Linked DNA regions of Homo sapiens: all the other regions are linked to region 1. Evidence: promoter capture Hi-C in human tissues and cell types (Jung and others, 2019). All regions are on one chromosome and are shown on one strand. The core of a region is centred on a gene start or on the middle of the fragment in contact, and the rest is flanking DNA. Distances in the headings are between cores, read along the strand shown. Region 1 holds the start of SHC3 (SHC adaptor protein 3). Region 2 overlaps SHC3 (SHC adaptor protein 3). Region 3 overlaps LOC105376136 (a long non-coding RNA gene). Region 4 overlaps SHC3 (SHC adaptor protein 3).

Region 1 (5,874 bases), core at 1,067-3,566:
TGTAGGCTTTTTAAAACAGCAATTATGCTAACACCCCAGAAGTAAACACAACCTCAAAGCTGTCAGGGATTTTTGGTTTGGTTTGTTTTTTTCTTTTTGTTTTGGCCCCTGGTTATATAATTTAAATAAGCAAAACAAGAAGAATATTCAGTACCTCTTAAAATAAACTCAACCAAATATGCATATATTATGCTCATCTATACCCCTTTGGTAAAATATAATAATCCATAGTTTGAAGGTTAAATTAAAAAGCAGACTGAAAAGGTGAAGAAGCCCTCTTTTAACAACAATGGCCACATTCATCTGTAAGTACTTTTTATATAGTTAAAGGCAATCCACAAAGTTAAGTATTTCTGTTAATATTTTGGTTCCGAAATTACCAGACACTGCATTTTACCTGAGGATGTGTTCTATTTAATTTTTACACTGGAATCTGCAGCCAATATTTACGGAACAGACATCCTGGGGGTTTCTCAGTGTTATTGAGGACACGGTGGGGATAGAGTTTGTGTCTCATTTCTTTCTCAATACAAAGCCATGCCTTGGAGTGGCAGGATTGAAATACTGCAACTTCCATCCTTAACCCCTGTCTGCTCGGCTGTGGAGGCTGTTAAAGCTCTGAGCTGCCCAACCGGCAGAAGGAAATAACCGCGTGGCAGATTACTTGAACTGTGCTGAGCATTTTTCCTTAAATATCATAACATGCTTGCATAAGGGTGGAATTTTATTGACTACATCGTGATTTTATCATCTTTGTGTTGGAGGAAAAAACTCCTTTCCAGCCTGTGGCTCCAAGCGCAGCGCCCTAGTTCCCTTTTAGCACATTTAAATGGAAGACTACAGTCACCAGAAAAATAGTCCCAGAATTCTCATTCCGCTGCTGTAAACCAGAACCTTTCCTTAGGGAATGAAAGACAAACCCCAAGAAAACCTGGACTGGGTGAGAAAGTAAAGCCCGTCGAAGAGAAAGCAGCACAGCATTTGGCCTGCTCTGCAAGGAGCTGGGAATTCTTGCTGCGGGGGGCAACAAGATACCCACCCTCCCGCCGGGGAAGACACAGCAGGAGTAGGGCCGCCACTCCGTGCATCTCTCCTCCCGGGGGCTGCCCAGCTCTCCCCAGCGCGTTTCCTAGATACTAGGCAGGCCGGACCCCCGCTGCCCAGGGTTGGGCGCCCATGACACTGGTCAGACATCTGGTAAGCCAGGTGGCAAAGGCGTGCCAAAAAAGTGGAGCCTAGGGAAAACCGGGACGGAGCGGGCCACCCGAGTGGTAAACCTTTTCCCAATGGATGCGGGAAAAGCGCATTTGTAGTTCCCTCCTCACCGCTGTCAAGCGAGCTGATTGCTAAGGAGTGCGCATTTGCTTGCCTCTAACGTGACAGTCGCGGGAGCGCCCCGCACCCCGGGCTTCAGGGAATGAAGGAGTCTGCCCCGAACTGGCCCCAGAACCCCCAGCCCCCAGGGCGGCCCGCGCCCGCACCCACCTTGACCACGTAGGTGACTCCGGGCCCCAGCACCTGGTCGCTGGCGTGCGGCGCCCCCCGAGGGGGCCTGGGCAGCGGCTCGTCGCCGGGCCGGCCCTTCCTGGCGGCGCTCATGGCCGGGGCGCGGGGCGCCGAGGGCGCACTGCCGTCCGGGGCGGCCAGGCTGGGCGCGCTGCAGCTGCCCGAGAGCCGCGCGCCCGCCCGCTCCCGGGCGGCCGACGACAGGCCGCGGAGGCCCGAGCTGGAGAGTTTCAGGTGGGACACCTTGTGGAGCAGGTGGCCCAGGCTGCCGGGCCCATCGTCGGGCGCCTTGCGCAGCGCCTCGCCGGACACCAAGTAGGGAGCCGCCGCCGGGGTCGCGCGCGCCGCCGAAACCTTGCCTCCGCCGCCGCTCACCGACAGGCTGTGGAGAAGGTCATCGACCGATGTCACCGAGTCATTCCTGAAGCGGTTATACTTGGTGCGTGGAAGCATGCCCCTCCGTGGGCTCGCTGCATCCGCCCGGGCGCTGCTGGTGCCGGCCCCGGCGCGGGCTGCCGCGCATAGCAGGCGAGCCACTGTCCCCGGAGCGGGACGGAGAGTGGGGGCCCCGGGACAGCCTTCTGGAGAACGAGAGCAGAGCAAGAGGATGGTGCCCTCCCACCGTTAAAAGCCAGCACAGCGGCGGCCGCGCAGCCCCGGCCCGGGAGACCGCTGCTTGGGGTTGCACGTTTGCTTTGCAAAAGTCATAGTTGCCTCTGATGGAGCGCCCAGCTGCTTGGGGCTGCTCACAGCAAAAGCATGACTCACTCTGAGAGGAGACCCTTCTCAACAAAGGCTCGGTGAGCACTGCAAATCACTTCCTGTAGCAGAAGAAAAAAAAGGAAAAAAAGAAGAAAAAAACGACATCCACCCGCTGACAGCACACTATAGCCAATCAATTCTCAAATTTCCTTTTTCTACCTTCCCAGATATTTCCTTCCAACCTTTGATTTTTCACCTTCCCATCCCCCGCAATCTGCATTTGTGCCAAAGGTAAATCCAATCCAGTTCCTTCAAATCGTCAAATGAACTTTCTGAAACCCATTATTCTGTTAGGTTTTGCTCGTCCCTGCTCAGCCCATCTGTGTGAGCCTGTAAAAGTGTCTAACAGCGATGCGTTAAAATGTGACGAAGGCTTTTTAAGAATCAGATCTTCAGCGAATCCTGATGAATCTTGACTTGGAAGGCAGCAGGAATTTTTAAATAGAAAAAAACAAAAAGGATATTCACCCCCAGGTGACTGTAAAATACCAATTTCCTGGGTTTTGCTTTTTCTTTTCAAATTAACAGAGCAGCGATGACAAGTGTCTTTGTGGCAATGCAGTTCCTCAAAAAAAAAAAAAAAAAAAAATCTGCATATGAACTTCTGCACAGTGCCAATCAAGGGGTCTTCCCTGCTCATTTACAGCAGTCTTTCTCAGCCAGGGTTAAGTTGAATATCCACTTCCAAAAAAGAAGAGTGCTTCTTTCACGAGTGGCAACAGGCTCCAGAAATCCATTCCAAAAAAGGGGCTGCATTTGAAGCTTTAATCCTACTGAATGTGTTTAAGCTCTGGAAAAACGCCTAAGAAATGCTACAAATACATTTCAATGTTCCTTCAGTTGCTGCTTGCAACCCTGCAGTCAGGAAGGAAAAAATGCAGCTGTTCTTATTGCACATCAAATCCACAAGGAGGAAAATATGCCTTCTTTTCAGGAGTCAGGCTCGGGCTTGCAAGTAAAATGCACAGGCCTTCTTCCTCTCAGTTAGGAGAGCAAGGCTTTCGCTGTCCCCAGAGGTCTGCCCGAGACTGAAGCCCTCTGACTCTTGACCTCAGTGGGCTCTGCCAGGCTTCCTCATGCATTAGGATCACCTGCTCCACAGTGAAACACTCACTATCAAAGTTTTCCCGCAACTTCTGAGCAAGCGAATAAATTCAGCTCTAGCACACTCTCAGGTCACCCTGAGTCCTCTCACTCCCATGACCGAACATGTGGGGCACGTGAGGTCCTGAGTCTTGAACCCTGCTCTATGGAGCAGAGTTTAATGAGCGCCACTCATGGCGGGCGAGCGGGTGAGGCCAACCCCTAGGACGCAAGAGCGCAGAGGAGCCGCGGCGTCCCCGGTACAGGAAACGCGTCCCCACGGCTCGCCTCCTGTGCCGCAGCCCTAGCAGAACAGCTACACGGCACTCATTTGTTCCCTTTCCCTAGCTTGCATAGCAACAGCAATTGCACACCCCATAGATGATTTTGATGGTTATCAGAGTCCTCCCCAGATCTGTAGCGAAACAGCCCTATCATTCCCAAAGCGAGATCTTCATTAGATGCAGACAAAAACCGCAAAATGTGAATGAAATGCTGTTTGTGTGAATGAAAAGGCTAGCGAGCGAGCCAGCGTTTCTGTGAATGAAGCAGGGCCTTGCAGCCGGTGCCAGGCAATCCCCTGGGCTCCAGCGGCCTCAGCCAATGAGCGGCCGCCCCGATGACTCATTCAACAAAGGCTTGCTCAATAGTGGAAGATTCCATTTCAATCAAAGGCGGGATCTTTTATCCAACGGCAGTGTGGGAAAAAAAAAAAGAAAAAGAAAAAAAAACACCCAGCCGGATTACAAAGATACCGGGAGGAAGAGGCCAGCTGCTATGGAGAGGAAAAGCTAGTTTTACAAGGGAATTCAAGATCCCTTGGTCAGGTCTAAGTGTGAAGAGGGTCTCTCTTGGAGGTGAGCTGTGCCCCTAAACTTTCATTCAGCCGTTCATTTACATCAAGGAGCAACCATGAATGTGCCAGTCGTTCAGCTTTTATTATGAATGTACATTGAATGCACGTTCAAAACCTAGGTTCCTAGCCCTTGATTCTTTTTTTGTAAAAGGCATGTAGGACACCTGTACACGTTCTGAGGCTCCAGGGAGGAAAAAAAATCCAAAGCTATGTACTTAACGTTTAGCCAACAGGAGACTTTTATTTCTTTTATTATGAGGCCAGTGGAGGGAAATTGGTCATTTTAAAATATAAATAGCAACATAAATTTACTATATATGAAAAGATATATAATCAAAGACAGAAATTAATATTCCAAGAACACAGTAGTACGGTAAAACCTCACTTACCTGGAAAATAGTATCAACATTTTGGAACGTAGCAGAAAGATGGAAAAAGAAAAACCCGAAGGCCTCTCAGCATCAAAAGGAGGCTGTGCAGCCCACACAGAAGCTCACACACCCTACTCATGAGAAAACCCTTTGCCCTTTCTGGGGAGCTGTTCATGTTTATTTTAGACCCTGTACCAGAAAGCCCACATATCTTCTTGATCAACATAGAGACAGATGAGAGAGGAGACCACTGGGACAGAAAATGCTAAATGTAAATGAAATTTTCTGTTGCTGGCTTGCTTGATAGCCATGGAAGGAAGCAGGAAAAAAAAACTCCATTTTAAAGTCAGCCTTGAGATTCACCAAAGCCAGGCAGTCTGGGGCAATTTACAATGAGAGCCTTTCCAGTATGTTGTGGTTTTTCTTTTTTAAATCAATGCTTAAACACGTATTTGCTTTCTATGGCTGCCGTAACAAATGACCACAAAATCAATGGCTTAGAATAACACAATTTATTATCTTCCAGTTTGTAGGTAAGAAGTCCAAATGGGTCATGCTGGGATCCAGCATGGGTGTGGGCCGAGCTGGTTCCTCTGGAGGCTCTGAGGGAGAATCCACAAATTTCTGAGAAGGTGCCATGAGCTGGGCCCTGGGGAAAGTGGTTTTGCCTTCTGGAAGGCAGAAGATCTGAAATTAATGTTATAACCTAGTTAAGACTATGTGAATTTTGTAATATGTGTGAGATACAAAAACTTGACCAAAGGAGTGAGCTTGTCCTGAGGATGCGGAGGTGACCCCTGACCCCAGTGGAGGCATCCTCCAGGTGACTTCACAGGAGGAAACTGTGTGGGCAAGGGCTCCAGGCCTGAGCAGTCCAGAGTCTCCCAGAATCCCTGGTAGGTTGGTTGGGTTGGTGAGGAGGTCAGGAGGCTGGGCACTCATAAAGGCTTAGAGGGGTGATGAGGTTTGGATGTGTGTCCCCTCCAAATCTCATGTTGAAATGTGACCCTCAGTGTTGGAGGTGGGGCCTGGTGGGAGGTGACTGAATCATGGGGGTGGATCCCTCATGAATAGCTTAGCACCATTCCCTTGGTGATAAGTGAGTTCTTGCTCTGAGCTTACATGAGATTTGCTTGGATAAAAGAATATGGCGGCCTGGTGTGGTGGCTCATGCCTGTAATCCCAGCACTTTGGGAGGCCGAGGTGATGGATCACCTGAGGTCGGGAGTTCGAGACCAGCCTGGCCAACAGGTGAAACCCCATCTCTACTAAAAATACCAAAACTAGCCGGGCATG
Region 2 (5,874 bases), core at 1,232-3,731, 110 kb before region 1:
TTTAGCAAAGCCTGACTTGTTGGGAATTGCATCCCTACAGGTGCCAGTAGTCATCACCTAGGCCTCCTATGGTCCTGACTTTTAGCTATAATTTATCAACCTTGTGAGACATGGCTCATTTTCCACCCTTATCTCTTTGAGATGGTGGTGGTGGTGGTTACCATCCAACTTAATGACTTGGGTCAGGAACCTTTTGTCCTTTCACTGGATTAACTATAGAAGCCATGGATTCTTGATACCAGAGAGACAAATATAGATTCTCATTAGAATTATTCTAGATTAACCACAAACACATATAAGAATATAGAAGCAAGAATCAGCACGGAAAAAGACAAACAGTAACAGCATCGAGGGACTTGAACCCGTAACTGTAAAATTTTACAGAAGACTTTCTGGGATGCATTCTGTCCCTGATGGTCTTTAGGGGCTGTGCCTGCAGCCACAACACTACAAGGTCTGCTCATACACAGAGGGCTAGAAGCCCCAGTGTGGGGACTTTTAAGAGCCCAAATAAGAACATTCACACCCAGAATTTCTTGCTACTCTGCCCAGTGGTAGAGGCCAATCTTCCTAAATTAACCCCTGTACATGGCATAGGGGAGGAAGAAAGAAAACAGAGCAGTTGGGAGAAAGCCCTGCCACTGGCTCCTTCATGGAGGAAGTCATCCTGGTAAGGACACTGATGAGATGGAGCAGAACATGCTCATAGCTGGGCTGCTGGAGGGATGCAGTTAGATCCACCCTCCCTGCCCACACTGTCATCCGGTAGGCTGGGCCTCCTCACACATGGTGAAAGCAGGGTTGAGGGGTAAAGATGGCTGCAAATTCCTTGACATTCTTTCCTTGAAGGGTACATGTGGCTTCCTTCCCCCTTGAGTCTGAGCTGGCTGTGACAGCTTTTTTTTTGAGACGGAGTCTCGCTCTGTCGCCAGGCTGGAGTGCAGTGGTGCGATCTCGGCTCACTGCAACCTCTGTGTCCCAGGTTCAAGCGATTCTTCTGCCTCAGCCTCCCAAGTAGCTAGGACTATAGGTGTGCACCACCACGCCCAGCTAATTTTTGTATTTTTAGTAGAGATGGGGTTTCACCATGTCGGCCAGGCTGGTTTCGGTCTTCTGACCTCATGATCTGCCCGCCTCGGCCTCCCAAAGTGTTGGGATTACAGGCGTGAGCCACCACACCTGGCTGACAGCTGTGACTAGTAAATCTATGGCAGAAGTGAAGCTTAGCCCGGCCTTTCAGAGCACTGGACACATCTACTCTGGGTCTCATGGAACCTAGAGCTGCCATACAGAAAGCCCTACTTCCCAGAGGGATGAAGGGGCCACTTGGAGAGTCTCTGAGACTCCATGGAGAGGGCTGAGCCTCTAGTCATCCTTGCCAAGGTCCCAGGTGTGGAAGCAAAGCCAATTTGGACCTCCTAGACCAGCCCAGACTCTCTAGCTAAAGACCACTCGATGACCCCTGTCGATGCCACTTGGGCAGATGAACTGACCAGCTGACACTTGCTTGAATTCCTGACCCACATTCTATTATAATAAAATGGTTGTTGTTAAGCCACTAAGCTTGAAGTAGTTTGTTACAGGCAATAGATAGGTGGGAACACAGAGTGAGTATCTCCCACTAACTGTCTCAAACAAAGGGCCTGTCTTAATCAGCTGGGACTGCTGTAACAACACCACAGGCTGGGTGACTTCAACAACAGACATTTGTTTCTCACAGTTCTGGAGGCTGGAAGGTGCCAGCAGACTTGATGTCTACTGAGGGCCCTCTTCCTGGTTTGCAGACGGCGCTTTCTTGCTGTGTCCTCACATGGGTGGAAGAGGGTGAGGGAGCTCTCTGAGGTCTCTTTGACAAGAGCACCAAACCCATTCACAAGGCTTCCCCCTCATGACCTAATGACCTCCCAAAGACATCACCTTCAATTGGGGCCTTTAATTAATGCAATACCATCATATTGGGGGTTTCTATTTTAACATATAAATTTGGGGGTGACGTGAATATTCAGTCCATAAGAGGGCCCCTGTGTTGGTGGTGCCCTCAAGCACCAAAAATGGTGGAGATCTTTTTCTGCATCACAGGTCTGGCATTTGTCTTCACAGTATCACCACATGCAAACCTGAGAGAGCCTGGTGAGGCAGCCACGGGACATGTGGAATCGATCCTGATTCCCATGTCGCTGGACAGGAACTGTATTGTGGGCAGAAAGTACTCTTGGTTTGCCCCTGAGAAATGAAGTCAATGACTCGGGGCTAAACTCCTTCAGGATCTGGACCTAAGCCTTATTTCCTAGCTTTGGCGGTACCTTGGAATCATCTGAAGAGCTTTTAGAAAATTGTATTGTCTGGGCCCCACTCTCTGAGGCCTGAGCATTGAGGTTTTTTTAAGCTCCCCAGGCAGTGGCGTGGGGGATGATTCTCCATAAGGCCGCATCATGGATCAGTTCATCTCTTCCGTATGGGCTATCTTAAAAATATATCCAAGGTATAGCATTGGAGGGTAAGGTAGCAAAACAGAATATTAGGATCTCATTTGTATGAAAATGTTAAAAAGAGAGGGTATGTATACGGATAAGCATTATGCAAAGCAAACTAGAAAATCTTAGTTGGTACCTGGGGTAGGGGGGTAGTGAAAGGGAGTGCTGTTTTGTGCCGTTATTAATTCCATTTGTTATTTCATCAATGAGTTTTAAATTGCAGCTGTGGTGTGGTGCATCAATAGCTGCCTGGAACTCCAGGGTAGTGCACCTTGGTCAGTCCCAGCCACCCCAGGTATGCTACCATCCAATGGGCTTTGGTTTTATAAATGACTCCCCCCATCCAGCCTGTTCCTGAAGACTTAGAAGCTGAAAGGGATATAATCAGACAGCGCCTGAGCTCAGACACTAACCTCTAGGGCTGGCAGGGCAGAGTGAAGTAGCTAGGGGTGGCTTAGTGGGCACTGGGCACACACCAGGAGCTGAAGCTGGGCAGGAGGACAGGCAGCAGGTGGTCTTCCAGGAGTAACCGAGGCCACTGTCAGAATATGGGCAGGGGCTGTTTGTGTGTAAATCAATTGTACCAAACCAGCTATCTGGATACAAGCGTGTGTTTGGTGGTCAGAGAGGTCCGGTACCTCCTAACTCAGCCAAGCGATCTACAACCCTTGCAAACCTCATTCATCCTTAGTAATACAAGATGGCACTACTCATTTGTTGGGAGGGGGCTGAGATAACGAGGACCAGCTTGTATAGAATGTGAAGCCTGGCTGTACACAAACAAGAGATTAAAGGGGTCAAGCACCGCTTACCTCTGCGATTAACAGGGTCCTTAGCCACATATGCAACATAGTCAGTTGTGTCCTGTTAAAGAAAAAAGAGATGTCTATGTCACTAATCACAAGTGAGAGACCACACAGTCAGGGACACAGGGCACAAACCAGTGAGCTTAGAAGGACTCAACCACCAAACAGCTAAAGAATCAAATGCTGCCTAAGAAACAGCCCCCAGAAGATTCAAGCTATATAATGTGGGTAGCAACCACCCAGAGGTCTCACATTGCAGACTTTGACTCAGCAGGTCAGGGGTAGGGTCTGAGGTCCTGTACTTCTAACCAGCTCCCATGTATACTGAGGCTGCAGTGTCTCAGTATCCCACCGGAACTGGTTAGAAGTCCACTTACACTTTGAGCAGCAAGGAGAAAAGGCATGTTGGATCGCCTGAGAAGCTTTAAACACACTGATACCTGCGTCCCAACATGCAGATAATCCCATTTAATTGGTTTGGATGTGAGGCCTGTGCATTCGTTTTTAGATGCTCCCTAGATGACTGTAACGTGAACCACATGTTAAGAACCACTGCTCTCAGCTTTGTCTACACCAGTGGTTCTCCAATTTGAGCTGGTATCAGAATCCCCTGCAGGGCTTGTTAAAATAGAACGCTAAGCCATACCCCCGAGTTTCTAATTTGGTAGTAGTTCTGGGGTAAGGGCTCAAAATTTGCATTTCTGTCAAGTTTCTAGCTGCTGCTGCTCTGGGGGCCACACTTTGAGAACCACTAGGCTAGAAGAAAACCAGAGTGGATGTTCAAAGGCTGACTGCAAATGCTGCCTTCCTGGTGGATGAGATATAATGGTTATTTTCTTCTTGGACATAAATAATGATCTTAATACTTTAATATGTTTTAAAAATATGAGCTCTATTGAGAAGTCTCATCCTTCCATATGAAATGTGAGTTTCTTTGCCTGCCTTCTCATATAATCAGTGCATAGGGAAAATGATGACCTCAAAAGTAGACCACGGCAACCATATGCATTTTAATTCATAAACAAATAAGCAGAGAAACCAATAATTATCTTAACTCCTGAAAGCAGAAAAGACTCCTCTGCAAAGTTGGTATTTTCGGCATTCAAGACTCTGTGGGGCAACTGATAAAAGTCTACCTCATTTTGGCAGACATTTCCCATATGTCATTGCTTTGAAGGGCTTCCAGGTTATTGATACGCTCCCGATGTTGCCAGCACCTAAAAGGCTCTGTCGTGACTTGCTCCACTGTTTTCTCTATGGGCAAAGGAGACATCCCCTTCTCTCTCAACAGTGCCCTACAAAAGCTCTCCAAGGAGAGAGAGATGAGGGAGAGAATGAGTATGGGGTGGCCATGTCACTGTTGTGGGACATCTGCTGTAGGTTCAGGTGGGTGGTGCTGGGCACTTTTCCACACCCCATCCCGCTGGATCTTACACAGCCCAACAAGACCACACCAGTGTAGCATTCTTCCAGCAGCTCTTGAGACAATGGTGCTGCTTCCCCGGTCATTCTGCAGGGCGTGGCTCAGCTAAGCTGTTTTCTTTTCTGCTCAGGACACTGTTCCCTGGTGTATTCACAGGCTGACTAGGGAAAGGAAATGAAAGATCGTCCACCTGGTCAAACTGGCTTCTGGTCATTTCCATCAAGGAGGATCCAGTCAGAATCTGAAGTTATTGGCAAAAACAAGGATAACAGCTTGTAATCATAGGCACTTCCTGAACTCACAAGACGTGAATGTCAGAAGGATCCTTAGAGAGCATCTAAGATAGCACTAGATTTCAAGCTGAAATTCATAGAACCCTAGGGTTGGACAGGTGTCTTCTCCAGTGTTTGAGGTGGCACCAGCATTTTAAAAAATTTTTATTTTCATTTCCATGATTATCTTAAAATTAATATAAGAGTAACTGGGATCATTTAGGTGACCACTGTGTTATCAAGTTCTGCACACAATTTCAATGCCAGGATTTGCAGCTGGATTTCCAACATTATGATTGCTAGGTTTTCAAAGAATTAGAAAGAAAAGGACACAGGGTAGATTTCTCTGCCCACATAAAGCAAATTGACATTATACTTGTACATGATGTACAACTGAAGTTTCTGCTTGAATAGAAGAAATTAGTGGAAGAATTGAGTCATCCAGGTGCCCATGGTAATGAAGAGACATTGAACTTAAAAAATTCTGCCCCATGGTGGCCAGGCCAGCATCACATTCAGATGGAGATTTAGTTTCAGCGAACTTTGTCCATCATAGCAAAGTAATATTACATTGAATGTCATTGGCCTTACAATGTTTACTTGTATTTAACTTTCAAATTTAAGTAGGGGGAGAGTTAAATAAAAAGTATAAATAAAAGAAGTTTATTTTTAATTTGTTTTTGCACATATTCAGGTAACAAAATTAGAGTCAGCATTAGTAATGAATACAAGGAATATATTTTTTTACGTTCTTACTCTGGCTCAAAGTTGGGAAAGGAGGGAGAATAGAGAGACATAATATGTCCCTGTCTCTCAGATGGTCAATGGCCAAGCTTTTCTGATGCCAATATTGATCCTTTTCTGGCAGAGCAGGCAAATATATTACCATTCAAAACAAT
Region 3 (5,874 bases), core at 1,226-3,725, 100 kb after region 1:
TACAGATGCCCACAGGCAAAAGAATTGGGAGCCCTACACCCATCTACCCTCCAACCCCAGCTCTTATTTGAGTGTAGAGTGAAAAACTGGCTCATTTTGCCCGGGACTGTCACTGTTTTACCATTAAAAGCCACCATCCTAGGAAATCCTTTACCCTCAGACAAATCTAGAATGGCTGGTCACCTTATATGTTATCTAGAATTGCTTTCTGGGATGATTTTGAAAAATAAATGACTTTTTTAAAATATAAAAGCTTCCTCTGAATAACAAAATTTAATTTGCAGATTATCCTTTAGCATTCTATAAAAAATATTATTTATTTTAGCAGAGTTGACTTTTCTTGGCATATACATTTGTATTTGTCTTAGCACTTAAAATATATATGAAGCATATTGTAAAAAAAAAGAAAAAGGATCATATTGTATTCACAGGTAATGCTTTTAATTTTAAATGTCATTGAAGAAATAATCTGGTACAAACATGGCACACATGACTCATTGCTGGTAGGGTTAGAGACTTCCCACTTGAAGTCACTTTGATTCCTAAAATAAGTTTATTGATGTGTTTCTTTTACATTACATCTTCCTGATTTTAAAAAAATGTGTTATGTTTTCTTTTCTTTTTCTTATTTTTTTATTTTAAGACAGAGTCTCACTCTGTTGCTCAGGCTGGAGTGCAGTGGCATGATCATAGCTCACTGCAGCCTCAACCTCCTGAGCTCAAGTGATTGTCCCGCCTCAGCCTCCCAAGTTGCTGAGACTACAGGTGCATGCTACCATGCCTGGCTAATTTTTTTTTTAATTAGAGACAAGATTTCACCATGTTGCTCAGGCTGGTTTTGACCTTCTGAGTTCAAACTATCCTCTCACCTCAACCTCCTGAAGTGCTGGGATTATAGTCATGAGCCACGGCGCCCCAGACCTTATTTTCAAAAGATATATTTTTCTTCATTTCTCCTTGAACTTGGAGGGAACACTGCCTCAAAAGAAGTACATTAACAACATTGGCTAAACCTTCTAAGTCGTCTAAATTAGGAAAGGATCGGTTGGCCTTCAGGTTACATTTATTAGAATGACTCACTGAAGGGAACAAATATTTCAAAAGATAAAATGTAATTTTCAATTTAGTGAATTAAAATGCAACCACGTGTAATCTGAACTCACCCACATGATCAGTGTACAGAAGAGCTTTTGATCTGTATCATGTTGTTGAAAATTCATTAGAGGCCACGCAAGCATTTCTACTTGTTGGTTGTATCATCCTGTTGGCAGGAAGACAGCTAGCACTGAGGCCAAGGGCTGTGGAGGACAACAAGTAGTGACCAGGAATGCATATCATCCTATCTGCTGTTTCCAGTCCTCATTCTCACTTTTGTCAGGATTTCCATCTGTCCTCAGAAATCAGGAAGAACCAGCATCAGGGCAAAGAGTTCAGGGGCAGTATGCAAAGCTTTACTAGTTGACATGGACATTAATGTTGGAGAGGGAACCTGTGGATCTCCTCATTTCCCTTCTCGATCGCTGTTGACTATATTCCAAGGCTAACAAAAGGTTTGCAAGACAAAATCTTGAGGACAAACCTTAAGTCTGTTAAAGTCACAGTCATGACATTTCTCAAAGTGTGATCCAGTGAACATCCACAACCCGAAATCACATGGGGTGCTTATTAAGAATGCGGGTTTTCAGGTTCTGTTAAATCAGAATCCCTCGGGGGCGGTCCCCAGGAACCTGCATTTGTAACAAATCCTTTGGGTGGTTCTGGCACATACTAGGGTTGAGGCTTCATGATCGTTTGCTATGGTGTGAATGTGTCCGCCAAAATTCAGGAGTTGGAAAATTAATCCCAGTGCAGCAGTGTTGACGGGTGAAGCCTAAATGGGAGGTGCTTAGGTCATGAGGGCTCTGCCCTCATGAACAGATTAATGTGGTTCTAAAAAGGACTTGCAGAAGTGCGTTCTCTCTATTCTGCTCTTCTGCAATGTGAGGAGAGTTTTTGCCCTTTTGCCCTTCTATCTTCTGCCACGTGAGAACGCAGCAAGGCTCTCATCAGATGCTGGTGCCTTGATCTTGGATGCCCCAGCCTCCAGAACTGCAATAAATTTCTGTTCTTTATAGATTTCCCAGTGTCAGGTATTTTGTTATAGCAGTATGAAACAGGTCAAGACTTTCTCAATCTTTACAGCATAACTGATCAGGCGCAGTGGCTCACGCCTGTAATCCCAGTGAGAGGTGACAGTGTGCTGGCAGTCCTCACAGCCCTCTCTCGCTCTGGGCGCCTCTTCTGCCTGGGCTCCCACTTTGGCGGCACTTGAGGAGCACTTCAGCCCACTGCTGCACTGTGGGAGTCCCTTTCTGGGCTGGCCAAGGCCGGAGCCCGCTCCCTCAGCTTGCAGGGAGGTGTGGAGGGAGAGGCGCGGGTGGGAACTGGGGCTGCGCGCCACAGGCCAGCTGGAGTTCCGGGTGGGCGTGGTCTTGGCGGGCCCTGCACTCGCAGCTGCCGGCCGCCCCTGCCGGCCCTGGGCAATGAGGGGCTTAGCACCCGGGCCAGCGGCTGCGGAGGGTGTACTGCGTCCCCAGCAGTGCCAGCCCACCGGCGCTGCGCTCGATTTCTCACCGGGCCTTAGCTGCCTTCCCGCGGGGCAGGGCTCCGGACCTGCAGCCCGCCATGCCTGAGCCTCCCACCCCCTCCATGGGCTCCTGTGGGGCCCGAGTCTCCCCGATAAGTGCCGCCCCCTGCTCCACGGCACCCAGTCCCATCGACCACCCAAGGGCTGAGGAGAGCGGGCGCAGGGCGCAGGACTGGCAGGCAGCTTCACCTGCAGCCCCAGTGCGCGATCCAGTGGGTGAAGCCAGCTGGGTTGAGTCTGGTGGGGACGTGGCGAACCTTTTGTCTAGCTCAGGGATTGTAAATACACCAATCGGCACTCTGTACCTAGCTCAAGGTTTGTAAACACACCAATCAGCACCCTGTGTCTAGCTCAGGGTTTGTGAACGCACCAATCGACACTCTGTATCTAGCTACTCTGGTGGGGCCTTGGAGACCCTTTGTGTCCACACTCTATATCTAGCTAATCCGGTGGGGAGGTGGAGAACCTTTGTGTCTAGCTCAGGGATTGTAAACGCACCAATCAGTGCCCTGTCAAAACAGACCACTGGGCTCTACCAATCAGCAGGATGTGGGTGGGGCCAGATAAGAGAATAAAAGCAGGCTGCGGGAGCCAGCAGTAGCAAACCACTTGGGTCCCCTTCCACACTGTGGAAGCTTTGTTCTTTCGCTCTTTGCAATAAATCTTGCTACTGCTCACTCTTTGGGTCCACACTGCTTTTATGAGCTGTAACACTCACCGCCAAGGTCTGCAGCTTCACTCCTGAAGCCAGCGAGACCACGAGCCCACCGGGAGGAACGAACAACTCCAGACGTGCCGCCTTAAGAGCTGTTAACACTCACCTGGAAGGTCTGCAGCTTCACTCCTGAGCCAGCGAGACCACGAACCCACCAGAAGGAACAAACTCCGAACACATCCGAACATCAGAAGGAACAAACTCCAGACGTGCCACCTTAAGAGCTGTAACACTCACCACGAGGGTCCACAGCTTCATTCTTGAAGTCAGTGAGACCAAGAACCCACCAATTCCGGACACACCAGCAGTTTGGGAGGCCAAGGCAGGTGGACCACTTGACATCAGGAGTTTGAGACCAGCCTGGCCAATATAGCAAAACCCTGTCTCTACTAAAAGTACAAAAATTAGCTGGGTGTTGTGGCAGGCACCTGTAATCTCAGCTACTTGGGAAGCTGAGGCGGGAGAATCACTTGAACCCAGGAGGCAGAGGTTGCAGTGAGCTGAGATTGCGCTGCTGCACTCCAGCCTGGACAAAGAGTGAGACTCCATCACATACATACACACACACACACACACACACACACACACACACACACACAGGGCGTAACTAACTCTCAGACTCCCTCTCCCCAGCTAAAGACATCTAGGCAAATTTTCATCCTGGTAGCACCCATGGGGAACTCCCTTCTCAACCTCCTTTTCCATGGAAAAATATCCATGAGCCCTGAGGATTTGAAATTCAGTTCATACAAAAGCGCCTTCCTCACCTCATCTCGTGGGAAAAAAAACCTGTCTCCCGAGTAAACATTTCATATAAAATAGTACTCAAGTCACTCCTCTCCAAAAACTTCACCTGGCCTCTTGCTTTCACATGGACATTAAGAGGCTAGGCCTCAAGTCTGCCTTTTCCTTGAGCCTGCTTTTCTCTGACGCAGAAGGGGCCACTTGGCAGGTCTGGCAATCCCACGTTCCGAGACTGGAGCTCTACAAGCGGGACTTGGAGCTGCCTGTGGCTCTGTTATTCCTTACTCCTTGGTGATACTCTTCACTTTGGTAATATTTTAGTAGGTATTGTTAGAAAGTAAACCTTCATTGAATTCTCAGAAAGAGTAAACCACTAAAGCATAATGAAGTAAACTGACAGTAACTAATTTATTATGTGTAACTACAGCACAGAATAATGCTACATAAGTTGGAATATAACAGTGGAGTTTAAAATGGATTTGGATTAAAAAGCACTAAGGACAAATAAAATTTAAAAGAGCAAATAAATTTACATATTTGAAATACGTAATTTAAGTATTGTTTTTATAAATAGTTTCTACTTTATCATTTCACTGGTTGCCAGAATCATGTTTTAGACCAGCTAATTTTCAAATATCTCTGAAGACTACAGCTGGGACCTGAAAAGCATGAACAAGTTTAAGTGGAAAACAGCCAACATTTCCTGGAATAGAAGAGATGACCCTAGGCTGAAATCGAAGGCTTCCCACCTGTGTCCACGACACTCAGAAAAGTGATTTCCCATTGCCACTACCTGGGAAAAGGGCATTGCCTTCAAGAGCCACTCCAAGGAGGTTGCCAGTTCTAGAGAAGCTTGAGATACAAGTTCTAGCAATACTCTGCTCTGCTGGAAAATTCTAGTGTTGCAAATCTCAACAAATCAGCATGCTGGCAGAAATTTAGAGTAAAAGGTATCTGGATAGTGAGAATAAATAACATAAAATTATTTTACTATAATCCTCATAAGAGTCCCTCAAAACCATCCTCAGAGCACACTCACTCTTCTCACTTGGTTTTCTGTGGCTATTTAAGATCCCAAGTAGCACCAGAAGGAAAAGTGTAGGTGGGGACAGAGATATCCACTTAAGTAATAGACAAATGAATTTGCCAAAGATCAGACAAAGAAAAATCGTATCCATTAATACAATTAGGAGCTATTCAGTACCTTCTACAAGCCAAGCATTGTGCAGGCCCTGGAGAGACAAAAAGGAACAGGACCTGATCTTGCCCTCAGGATATACACAACCTTATATGTTAAGACTAACATATAAATGATTAACTTCAATACAACAGAAAAAAGTATCAATTATGGTTATTTGGTGCAGGTATTAACCTTGGCCTAACTGGAGCACAAAAGAAACTCACTGGAGCAGTAGTAAGTAACTCATGAAATTGTTGGTCAATCTGAACAATCAAGCCAAGGGGAGAGAGCCACAGAAACCCAAAATTCTCAGGAACGAGAATTCTTATACTGTCACCTAAGGTTGCTGTGATTCTATCTGCCTTCCATCTCTGGGTGTCTCTACTCAAGATTCACTTTCCTGCAAAAAAAACCAAACAGCTGTTCTTATTCTAATTTGCATTATCACCTCCTGTGGTCCAGGAACAAAGACCCCTGGACTGGCAGCCCGAGAATCTCACAGGGTGAAGACTGAAGTTGGGAAAACCCTTGCCTTGCCAAAACACATCTAGAACCTTCTTTCCATACAAATATTCCCAAGAGGTTTCTAACCAAACATGGTTGTGCATT
Region 4 (5,874 bases), core at 1,537-4,036, 88 kb before region 1:
GATATAAACCAAAAATAAAATTCTAAGCCCACCAACCAACTGAACTGACCTCTCCTCTTAGCCAAGAGGATTCCAAAGTAAACGTGAAAAACTAGTTCAGGTCCTGATGGGAAGAGGGGGTCAGACATGCTTCATTATACACTCCTCCCTTAGAATTCAGGCAAGGCAGACCAGCATTAAGATGAGAACAGAGACCTTAAGATTGATAGATCAGACTCTTTGTAGCAATAAGATACCAACATGACAGATAGTAGGCCCTGAAGGAAATGAAAGTATTTTACCTCAAATTACATTTCTAGGACATATTTTGAAATGGCCCTGCAAAGCTGTCTCTTGTGGGGAAAATCTACACTCTGTAGAAAATCCCCTTCTCTTTCCAGGTCTTTTCCTGACCCAGGAGAGATTTAATTATGATTCTGGCACCTTTTAGGGTTGGTTAAGAGACCTTTACTATCCATTTTCTCTGAAGCCTGCTACCTGGAAGCTTCATCTACATACTAAGAACCTTGGTTTCCACAACCCCTTATCTTAACCCCGACACTCCTTTCATTTGATTCCAGGTCTTTAGATAATAACTCTTTCAACCAATTGCCAATCAGGAAAATCTTTCAAGCCACCTATGGTCTAGAAGCTTCAAGTTGTCCTGCCTTTCTGGACTGAACCAATGTACACCTTACTTGTATTGATTGATGTTTGCCTGTAACTTCTATTCCCCTAAAATGTATAAAATCAAGCTAAAACCCAATGACCTTGAACACATATTCTCAGGACCTCTTGAAACTGTGTCTCCAGCCTTGGTCACTCATATTTGGCTCAGGAAAAAAACCTCTTCAAATGTTTTACAGAGTTTGACTGTTTTTGTCAAAAAGATGAAAAACACAGAATACAAGAAATCAACATAAAGCCTTTAGAAATAAAAACTCCATGGACATAATGGGTCTGTTGTTTTTAAAAACATCTTTAATATCAGGGAAAGAGGTACAATGCAATCAGTAGAAAGGTCACCAGAAAAGAGGAAGGAGGAACAACGAGCTGTGGGGAAATGCTGATGGGACAACCAGAGGGAGAGGGGCCTGCACGGAGAGCAGGCAGAGGAGGGTACAGGGGAGAGGTATACGGTCATTACCACGACAAAGGGATGGAAACAGAGAGCACAGAATTTCCAGCAGGCAGGATGCATCCACAGCACCCAGGGGAGAACCCAGCAGAGGCCGTGAGAAAAGCCTGGGCACCGCGGAAGCAGCAGGAACCATTCTGGGTGAGACCACACCTGCAAGGCAAGAGAGAAGATGCTGGTTTATTCTTCACAAACTGTGAACGGTGTTCCTCATCTGCAAAGCTTCCTGCTGGAGGGGCACTTCCTGCAAGTATTTATTTAGACGGTGCTATCGACTCGGTGGCACTGTTCTGTGGCAGAATCTGCCTTCGAGAGGTATTTCCCCTTTCTGATCACCGCACAGAGCCTGTCCATTCCAGGGCAGTTCTACTGGATGATGCACCAGAAGCTGGCTGTCCCATCTTAGTCCTTATCTCTGACCTCTTTCTATCAATATTTGTGTATTTCTATGTGCATGTGAAAAGAAGCCCCACTGATAGAATTGGAGGAAGAGAGAAAGAAAGAGGAAACCTTAGAAAGGACCTGAGTGAGACAGAATAAAATTTCTAGGAAGTATATCTTGGAGGTGCCATGTGCAACGCTGATCTTGGAGTTAGGTGCCATGTGCAACGCTGATCTTGGAGCCTGGGGGGTGGAGCAGGAGGGAACTGGGACCTGGGGCAGAGTGTCCAGCTTTTTGAGAACCAGCTCCAGACCTTAAAGCTCACACACCACCAGAAGCCAGCACTGCCCTTAGGCAAGGGGGCAGCTGCTGGGTTTTATGCCCCCCGACACACTGAACCACCATACCTAAGACAAAGGAGTGATCCTTCCCATTTGGGAAAAGTAAACCAAAATTAAAGGAAATAAACTCAGAGGAGGGTCTTAACTCTTCCCAGAATCACACAATATTGGTGGAGTCAAAATCTGAATTGAGCTCTTCCAGGCTTCAGAGCCACTTTTTCCCAGGTCCCAAGTCTTCTTGGGGGCATGAGGATGGGGAGGGGTCAGAGCCCACAGGAGCCCCTGACTGCTTTGACTTCAGCAGTCCACACAGCGACCCAGGAGGTCACACCACAGCCAGCACCTTCTTGGAGTGAGGAGTAGGAAGCCCCCAAGGGCCACGGCTCAGGCAAGGCAGAGTGCGTCACCCAGAGGCCTGCCGGGCAGGGCCGCCAGCTCTAGAGGAAAAACACTAAACTAAACTTACCTGCCCTGCCTTTAAAAACCACCCATGCACATCCTCAGGCCCACGAGCAAACACACGGAGCCCTGAGCGCCAGCATGGATAAATCACGGTCAGCGAGGCCCTGCAGACAGCATCTCATTTGATTTCTATGACAGTAGGAGATGTGGATGTTGCCCTTACTCCAAGGTGGAGATAAAATATATCTCCACCCACATATTATATATAAAATTTTATCTCCACCCATTTCTCTCTCCTCCAGAGGCAAAGAGAGTCCAGGACATTGGCCAAGACCACAAAGCTCTTGAACTGGGCTCTCTGTGACATGAGAACATGAGACTAGATGCATGCAGTGGAGAGAAGTGACAAAGATTATCCAGCCAAAGATCATGCCACCTGATGTGCCAACGGCTTTGGAGAAAGGCAAGACCATGGCCTCCCAGTGTAAGGTTATGGTTGGGAAGTAATTCTGCACCTGAATGCAAGCTGACTGCCACCCCACTAGTTTTGGCCGGCTGCTCTGTTAAGTAGAATGCTGAGGTCAGTGTGATCAATAACTGCCACTTTGCTGTCACTCCAGGGGATTGGTGGGTATGGGAGGCTTCCCCCAGGAGGTGAGGCTGCACAGGGCCTTGGAGGCTGAGGAGGTTTGAGAGAGGAGAGTGTGAGCTGAGCACACAGAAATGATGAAGAGAGAGGTCAGTTGAGCCCATGCGGATTGGGGGTGCACCAGGGTGCAGCCACAGAGAAAGGGGAGTGAGTGGCCTGCAGAAGGACCCACAACAGGGAACCCAAGAAAACAGGCAAGAAATCAACATGGGTGGTATCATGAATGCCAGGTGAGAGGACTTTCCTAAAGATTTAAGTAGTGAAAACTACAAGGAAATGAATATCAGGGTTTGCTGATGCAGAGCGAAATGAGGAAGAATCTTTTCCCTCTAATAGAAATGGAAATGACGGGGTGGGGTGGGGATCCCCCAGGCACATCTAGGACAAAACTGTGCAAGACATGGCATAACAAGTCAGATATAGCCTGCGTGAAGAAAAGCATAGCATGGTATTGGGGGACATAAAGCAAGATCTGAACACATGAAAACTCATGCTATGTTCCCAGAGATAAGGATGAAACATTATTATGAAGTAAATTCTCCCTAAATTAATTTATCAATTTAATTGAATTATAATTGTCATCCTAATTGATATCTTTTTGCACTGAACAATATGTTAGAGTGCATAAGAAATTTCAAAAATTGTGAAGAAAAATTTTAAAACAACAAGGAAGAATAGCAAGGAGAAATATGTTCTGCCAGATGAAAAACATGACTATAACACAACCAAAATCAGAACCAGAAGTTAATGGCACACAAACAAATGCATCAGCAGAAAACAAATGTTACCAGTGGACTGAAATTAGGTGTTCAGAAACAGAGTGTGTGGTAATTTAACATACAGTCCAATGGCATTTCAACACAGTGGGGAGATTTGGGCCTAACTGGCTATCTTATTACAGGTAAACTAAAAATCCATACATACAAAGTAAAATAAATGAAAATATTAGAAGATTAGTTTGATCTACAGTGAAGGAGATTGTCAAGACAGGAAAACTACAAGCCATAAAGGAATGGCTGATGGATGCACTCTAATAAAACATTTTTTAATATAAAATTTACCATTTTAACCATTTTTAAGTGTGCAGTTCAGTGGCATTAAGTACATTCACATTGTTGTGCAACCATTACCATTATCTGTTTCTAGAACTTTTTCATCTTCCCCAACTGAACTCTGTACCCATTAAATAATAATTCCACATAACTCCCCACTGCCTCATCTGGCCAGCCCCTGGAGACCTCTATTCTACTTTCTATCTTCATGAATTCAGCTACTGTCTAATAAACATTTTTTAAATGATATGGCAAGATATTACCAGCACATACAAAATATGCAAAAACTCCCACAAATTGATAAGAAAGTAAAGAGACTCCAATAAAAAAAATGGGTAAGTGAAGTGAACAGGTAATTCATAAGAAAGAAAATGAAACCAGACAGCACATGGATGTGAAAAAGTGTTCACATTTCTGTATGCAAAAACACTCAAAGGAAAACAATAGCAACTATTGTTTTGATGATAAAACTGGTTGATAGCAATATTAGCACTCAGTGCTGCATAGTTGTGAAGAAAGGGCCACTTTCCTAAATTGCATGTGATATGTGAATTTCAGGAGTCATCTGCAGCGGCCCACCTGTTGGAGTGTGGTTCAGCACAGAAGGGTGTAGGGACATTGAGGGTCCTCACAGCATTGTTTTGCCTAGCAAAAGAAAGCAAAACCAGGAATTGTTGACTATATTATCATACAGCCATATGATTTGCAACTATAAAAAATCAGGTTTGGCCTGGCGCAGCGGCTCACGCCTGTAATCCCAGCACTTTGGGAGGCCGAGGCAGGCAGATCATGAGGTCAGGAGATAAAGACCATCCTGGCTAACACGGTGAAACCCCATCTCTATTAAAAATACAAACAAATAGCCAGGCGTGGTGGCGGGCACCTGTAGTCCCAGCTACTCGGGAGGCTGAGGCAGGAGAATGGTGTGAACCCCAGAAGCAGAGCTTGCAGTGAGCCAAATTGCACCACTGCACTCCAGCCTGGGCAACAGGGCAAGACTCTGTCTCAAAAAAAAAAAAAAAAAAAAAAAATCAGGTTTTAGGCCCCAATCTACTGATCCATTCAAGGAAAAAGTAGATTGTGGAATGATGAAGATGGTATGATTCCCATTTCTAACACAAAAGAAGGAAGGTGTGTGTGTGTGTGTGTGTGTATGTGTGTGTGTGTGTATACCAAAAAATCTGGAAAGCTATTAACACTGGTCATCTTTATCTTTTCTTTCTATACCTTTATCTTGTTTGACTCATTATGAAAAGCATCTATTGTTTTAATTTAAAAAAATAAATCAGTTCATGTTGTTGCATGCATTGGTAGTTCATTGTAGTTCATTCCTTTTTATTGCTGGGTAGTATTTGTATCATGCACATATCAAAATGTGTTTATCTGTTCACTAGTTGATGGATAATTGGGCTGTAGTTTGAGTCCATTACAAAGAATGCTTCTATGAACATGGACATACTGTGGACATACATTTTTATTGCTGAATAGCATGGTAGATTTATCTTTAACCTTATAATAAACAGTCCACCTGTTTTCATAAGCACCTGTACAATTTCACATTCCTACCAGCAATAACACACAACACAGGTAGCCCTCAAAACCTTAAGCTAAGTGAAAGAAGCTAGACACATAAAATCTTGTACAGAATAATTCCATTTGTACAGAATTGCATAGAATGGTTCCATTTACAGGAAATTCTAGAAAAGGCAGAATAATAGTGCCAGAAAGGTCCTCAGGGAGATTTGGAAAAGGCTGCTGACTGAAAAAGGGCACAAGAGATTTTTGGGAGTGGTAGAAATGTTCTTGACTGCATGGATGAAGCAATCAAGAATCAAGAATTTGGTTACTGTCTAATAAACATCTTTAAAATGATAAGGCAAGATATTTCCAGCACATACAAAATATGCAAAAAGCTCCCACAAATTGATAAG

The links. The method cuts DNA at HindIII sites, captures the fragments that hold promoters and counts their contacts. A contact is called where the count stands out against the background at its distance.
Region 2: a fragment that was not itself captured here is called in contact with the fragment with the promoter of SHC3 in region 1 in 2 of the 25 tissues and cell types used here (IMR-90 fibroblasts and bladder).
Region 3: a fragment that was not itself captured here is called in contact with the fragment with the promoter of SHC3 in region 1 in 2 of the 25 tissues and cell types used here (hippocampus and mesendoderm cells).
Region 4: a contact is called between a fragment that was not itself captured here and the fragment with the promoter of SHC3 in region 1, in 2 of the 25 tissues and cell types used here (dorsolateral prefrontal cortex and hippocampus).

The regions. Positions count from the first base shown.
Region 1 is chr9:89,176,502-89,182,375 of GRCh38, forward strand. SHC3 (SHC adaptor protein 3) reads right to left here and starts at 2,317. Exons shown (of 12, transcript NM_016848.6): 1 at 1,486-2,317. The coding sequence starts at 1,959. The HindIII fragment of the contact is 9,677 bases long and covers 1-5,874 here.
Region 2 is chr9:89,062,243-89,068,116 of GRCh38, forward strand. It overlaps SHC3 (SHC adaptor protein 3), which reads right to left. Exons shown (of 12, transcript NM_016848.6): 6 at 3,287-3,338. Among named protein-coding and RNA genes, the nearest start is that of S1PR3, 74 kb to the left of the region's middle. The HindIII fragment of the contact is 4,548 bases long and covers 208-4,755 here.
Region 3 is chr9:89,280,028-89,285,901 of GRCh38, forward strand. It overlaps LOC105376136 (a long non-coding RNA gene), which reads right to left. Exons shown (of 3, transcript XR_930101.4): 3 at 420-5,874. Among named protein-coding and RNA genes, the nearest start is that of CKS2, 28 kb to the right of the region's middle. RefSeq lists an enhancer at 2,024-2,542. The HindIII fragment of the contact is 3,248 bases long and covers 852-4,099 here.
Region 4 is chr9:89,087,666-89,093,539 of GRCh38, forward strand. All of the region lies in intron 2 of SHC3 (SHC adaptor protein 3), which reads right to left. Among named protein-coding and RNA genes, the nearest start is that of SHC3, 88 kb to the right of the region's middle. The HindIII fragment of the contact is 7,637 bases long and covers 1-5,874 here.